2 separate regions of the Homo sapiens genome follow, and region 1 is linked to region 2. Evidence: promoter capture Hi-C in human tissues and cell types (Jung and others, 2019). All regions are on one chromosome and are shown on one strand. The core of a region is centred on a gene start or on the middle of the fragment in contact, and the rest is flanking DNA. Distances in the headings are between cores, read along the strand shown.

Region 1 (2,848 bases), core at 92-2,591, 380 kb after region 2:
CTTATAAATTCCTTAATGATAGTAAAACCACCTGGAAAAAAACCTAGAGGAAAAAGGTTGTATGCCAGTCTTGATAAAAGAAATATGCCTAGAAATGCAGACACAAAAACAGGTACTCCTTTCAATCAGTCAAACTGTATAATATTCAAAGTGAAATGTTCTCCTTCATACCCCAAGGATGGCTATTAACCAAAAGGGCAGCTAACAAGTGCTGGCTAGAATGTAAAGAAATTAGAAGCCTCATATAATGCTTGTGGGAATGTAAAACGGTGCAACTACTAAAGAAAACAGTCTGGCAGTTCCTCAAAAGGTTACACATAGATTTACTCTATGACCCTGCAATTCCATTCCTAGGTACACAGTCAGGAGAAAAGAAAACACATATTCAAGTAAAGACTTGTAAAAAAAAAAAAAAGTTCATAGCAGCATTACTCACAACAGCCAAAACATGGAAACAATCCAAATGTCCATCCACTGATGAACAGATCAAGTTTGGCATACCCATACAATGAAATATTATTCAGCAATGAAAAGGAATGAAGTACTCATAGATGTTACAACATGCATAAAACTTGAAAACATTAGGCTAAGTGAAAAAAAGCCAGATACAAAAGGGTACACATTATACGAGTCTGTTTATATGAAATGTCCACAACAGACAAATCCATAGAGACAGAAAGCAAATTAGTTGTTGTCTAGGGCTTGAGGTAGGGGTGGTCTTGTGAAGAAAGAAGAGTGACTGTTAATAGGTACAGGGGTTTCTTTTTGGATTGATGAAAATATTCTAAAATTGATTGTGGTGATGGTGACAAAACTCTATGAATATATTAAAAACCATGGAAATGAGTGACTTGTATGGTATGTGAATTATAGCTCAATAAGTCTATTAGAAAAGTTAATTTTAAAAATGCAATGAAAGGTGATAGAACTTTACACTTACAAAGTAACAAATCCAGAAACGTCAAGTAAATGGAATGAAAACTCTGCACTAAAGGAACCAGATGCTGTCATTAAAATATTACCTCCTATAATCTGGCAATCCGATTCTGTTCTTTCCACACACACAGTACAAGGAAAGAAAAATAGCATGTGCTATATCTGGCACAATTAGAGAAAAGAATAAAAATACAAATTTTCAGCCTTGTTTAATTTTCCTTTCATGAAGCACTAAAGAGGTTTCCAAGTGTTAATCTCTAAAGTTGAAAATAAGACACAATACGATTATTATGAATATGTACAGACAAGCTTTGTCTTCACTCATGTAAAGACATATAAAGATATACACACCTTCATCAATTTTGCTTCAACATACCAAGCTTCATTATGACTATATCTCAAATTCTCCACAAAGTTCCCAAGTCTAAAAAGTTAGACACACAATCTGTTTCATAGATACTGACCTAAGTGTGTCTTAACATGTTTTGAAGTAGCTACTTTTAAGTAGCTAATAAGCTGGCAATTAATTTTGTGTTTTTAATTAAAGTTTCCTATCTTATTAACACTTTTCTCTATATGGATAAGAAGAAAAAAGGCAACCAGGCCAATCTTCCTTGAGAAGCTCTTCAAAACAAAATCCTAGACCATCCGAAGCACAAATACTAAGCAAGCAAAATAAAAGTCTAATCTGCAATAAAGCTTAAAATGTGTCCTTTTTGATTGGGATATTTATAATCAATAGGGTAAAGTGTAAACGCAGATTGCTGAATTAACCTATTAAGCTATCTGCGCTTGCAAAGGTAGAGGAAGCTCATTGCCTGCCCAAAACACTTGATTATCAGTAGAACAGAACTTCCTGTTCTACCAGGTAAAGAACAACTTGTGCAGTGGATGGGTCAAATAAAGAGATTTCTTAAATTTGGAGGACAAAGTAAACATTTCTGCCCTCTCTGGAGATCTTCACACCCTATCCATTACATGAGTTGCTCTCCACCTATTAGGTGAAGTAGGATACAAGATGTTAGTATTTTGAGTAATCACACCCTTCCATCTTCCCAAGCCCAGATAGTTTCAGTATATTAACTCATTTCACTTAGGTGTCTGACTGACACAACCAATTCTGAAATGGCTCCTGAAGTATATTTCTGGAATTCTTGGTAAAGGTACACAATCTTAATGTAGTTACCTTAAGTAATTGTTTTCCAATTGTTGGGCTCATCTTTTCATCTACCATAAGAATTACAATTCCTCTATCATCCATTCCTCTCCTTCCAGCACGACCAGACATCTGAATGTATTCACCAGAAGAAATCTGAATGAACATAGTTAAAATTCAGAGTTTAGGAAAAAAACTGGTAAAAAACATATTCTTAAAATTTCTCTTTTTATAAAATTTATAACAAGTTATAAACCCTAAGAAAGGAAACATGATTAAAAACAACATGAAGTTTGAGAAGAGTTAAAGTCAAAGCACAAAAATGCAAAACATGTGAGAATAATGTTTCAAACCGACATCACACTGACATAACAAAACTAAATTTTAGACTTATTATCATTTTGGATCGAAAATTTATGCTTTTAATCTAAATTTAAAGCCTAAAATTTAGGCTTTTAAAAATTTTGGCTTTCCACATAAGCCAATTACTGTTAATTATGCTTACAAATATATGACAGCTTCTGGGAAATATTGGCTAATTCACTGGCAGTAAAAAATACCTTTGAGCTGGATATTCTGGAAAACAGCAAAATCTTGATCTCCCGACCTTGTGATCTGCCCGCCTCAGCCTCCCAAAGTGCTGGGATTACAGGCATGAGCCACCACGCCCAGCGAAAACAGCAAAATCTAAGAATGCAATGACTCAAACTCAACCAAGTATCAATTCTGACTTGATCATAATTAACTTTCTGAATC
Region 2 (2,863 bases), core at 353-2,852:
AATCAACTTGTAGAGACACCATATAGTAAGTAACACATGCAAAAATAATCTATTATCTTTTAAAGTACCTTCTATTCATCTTTTTAAAGCCAATTTCCAAGTCAGAACTGAAGCCCAAAAAACTTACCCCACTGTCCCCTAAATTACAATGTAACTCCCCAAATGCCATTAAGAAAAAAGATCTGAAGATTCATACAAACTGATGTTACCAACTCAATCAGCCTAGTATCATTTATCCTGAGAACCCTCCTTGCACAAAATCAATTTTCAGAATTTAAAATATCTCCCAAAACGTAATTATTGTTTTCAATTTTCCATACAAGCGTCTTTCACTGATATCAACCACATTTGCCCAAGTTTGCTTTCACCTGAGGAAGTCCTAAATCATTGAGATTTAAATTAGGTCATTAATATTTTTACATCTATTTTAGCTTTTAATTATCAAATTGCCTCAAGCTATTGTATCCTATACGAGGCTTAGGTTGTCTCTTATTCCCCATATAATAGTTAATAACAATCACATGGAGATAAACACTGACACAGACTGTATAATTTAGAACTCTCACCACAGTGATTTTCAACTTTGATAAAATCCGTAGCATTTAATAACTAAACTTTAAATGTTATTACCTTCTCAAATATGGGAACATAGGAAGACATATGAGGGTTGATTTCTGCTTCCCAATCTTCATCTCCCATGGTGGCTTCAAGTTCTATTCATAAAAAAAAAAAAATGCACATTTGGACTCAATTAGATCAGAATCATAACTTTAAAAGCATAAACTCATTGTTTCACATACATCTTGAAACTACCCAACTAGGTGCTGATACCCCAAAAGTTTTTTCCAAAGAAGGAATTAGGTCTCTTCTTATCTAAAGGTGGCATTTATCTCCATCCTTTCTTAGCTTTAGAAACTAGTTGAACCTCTTACCTAGTCATTCTAGCAATCGCCATGTCCCCAGCAAGACTTAGGCTTTTCCCAAACATCTGTTCATAGACTTTATCTCCTCCCTCAAAGGGTCCCCAAACGACTTACTGAATATTAAGGGAGAGGCAACTTTTTTCAGAAACTACTTAAGATTTCTCCCTTCGCATGATTAACATCCAAGGTGGATAGGATGTTTGCTTTGGGGTGTTTGTGGCGTGCGTGGGGGCGGGGACAGGGGTACGGGAGTCGACTGGGTAGGGGGGCGGCGACTCGGTGAAGAGGGAGGCCTTGGATTTTAGTGGGGAAGGGAAGAAGGGTATGGTTGCCCAAATCCTGCCGACAAAGGACAACCAGCTTCATCAAGAAGGATTTGTACACAAATGGTACTCGGACCATGTCTGTTCAGAGAAAACGCAGTGAAGAAGCCAGGAATAAGGCCCCTTCGCCTCCTCTGCAGGCCTCAAGCCCAGACTTTGGGCACCCGTGGGACTCTGAGACCCCGAGGCAGAAAGGCTTCGAAGGACGGCTTCAAAACTCCTCCTACTCCATCCACACTTTGGCCAAAGGTCGGTTACTGGGGAGCCCGTACGGCCGAGTTCAGGCCAGTTCCCGTAGAAAAGCGGCCCACTCACCTCTCCGCGGCTTGCTCTCCCAAGCCCTCGCAGGCGCCCACGCGACTTAAACGGCTGCACGTGCAAGACGCCCACTGCGTCAGGTGCGTGGCTCCAACAACAAATGGCGTCTGTTGACGATTGGCTGGTGACTAGCGCCACCAGCCAATCAGCGCTCAGACGACCAGTGGCGTCCCGCCTCCACTTCTAGCCTGCGGATTCCCTAAACGCTAGCGTTCGGGCCCCTATGGCGACGCTCTGGCCTCATAGCCAAGTGGCCTGTTGGGCCTGTGGGTACAAGGCTGGCTGAGGGCCTACTTGTGTCCACGTTCTCTCGTGGGATCCTTATTCTGGAGACGCTCTGGATTTTCCTTGTGCAAGCTTCGCAAGCTAAATATGTCCACCTGCCTTTTTCTAACAAAAAATAATAATAAAAGGGGAAAGGGATAATGTCCTCCCTACTTGGCCTCTTTAGTGCTCTCTCCCCTTTTACCCATCACAGTCCATGGGTTGGCCCCTCGGGTTCTGCATTTCAGAGACTCGCTCCACATCCGGGGATTCCAGGTGCCTCAAAGTGCAGCTGAGGCTCATGGAGGAGGTGCATTCCCTTTTCCTCCCAGTAAGGGGGGCAGGGATGAGACTCCGTCCAGCTGGGACCCCAGGAAATCGTAAAGAAAGTTAGACTCGGCTGGGCATGGTGACTCACGCCTGTAATCCCAGCACTTTGGGAGGCCGAGGCGGGCGGATCACATGAGGCTAGGAGTTCGAGACCAGCCTAGCCAACATGGTGAAACCCCGTCTCTACTAAAATTAAAAAAATTAGCCGGGTATGGTGGCGGCTGCCTGTAGTCCCAGCTACTCAGGAGGCTGAGGCAAGAGAACCGCTTGAACCCGGGAGGCAGAGGTTGCAATGAACCGAGATCATGCCATTGATCTCTACCTGGGCGACAGAGTGAGACAGAGGAAAAAAAAAAAAAAAAAAAAGCCTGTAAGATTTCGGGGGTCCACCACTTTGGAAGGAAACAGGCTCTGATCCAGAAGGAGGGAGGAAATTGGTGCTGGCATAGGTCATTCATCAAGGCTTGGATTTGTGGCCCACCTGTTTATATTCCTACGGGCACTAGCCAAAGTGGCCAAGGGTTATTTTGATACTTCATGCTGTCTTCAATCAGATTTTCTTGTTCTGCCCCCACCCCCCACCCCAAAAGCAGGTAAAATCCCTCAGTATTTCCCCAGCCCTTCAAAACGCGTGACCATGGGCTGTTTTAAAAGTGTAGTTCTCAGAGGCCGGGCGCGGTGGCTTACGTCTGTCTGTAATCCCAG

The links. The method cuts DNA at HindIII sites, captures the fragments that hold promoters and counts their contacts. A contact is called where the count stands out against the background at its distance.
Region 1: a fragment that was not itself captured here is called in contact with the fragment with the promoter of DDX4 in region 2 in 1 of the 25 tissues and cell types used here (spleen).

The regions. Positions count from the first base shown.
Region 1 is chr5:55,357,973-55,360,820 of GRCh38, reverse strand. MTREX (Mtr4 exosome RNA helicase) reads right to left here. Exons shown (of 27, transcript NM_015360.5): 15 at 2,123-2,248. Among named protein-coding and RNA genes, the nearest start is that of MTREX, 51 kb to the right of the region's middle. The HindIII fragment of the contact is 3,997 bases long and covers 1-2,848 here.
Region 2 is chr5:55,736,800-55,739,662 of GRCh38, reverse strand. It overlaps DDX4 (DEAD-box helicase 4), which reads right to left and starts at 1,602. Exons shown (of 22, transcript NM_024415.3): 1 at 1,562-1,602; 2 at 631-713. The coding sequence starts at 699. The HindIII fragment of the contact is 12,969 bases long and covers 1-2,863 here.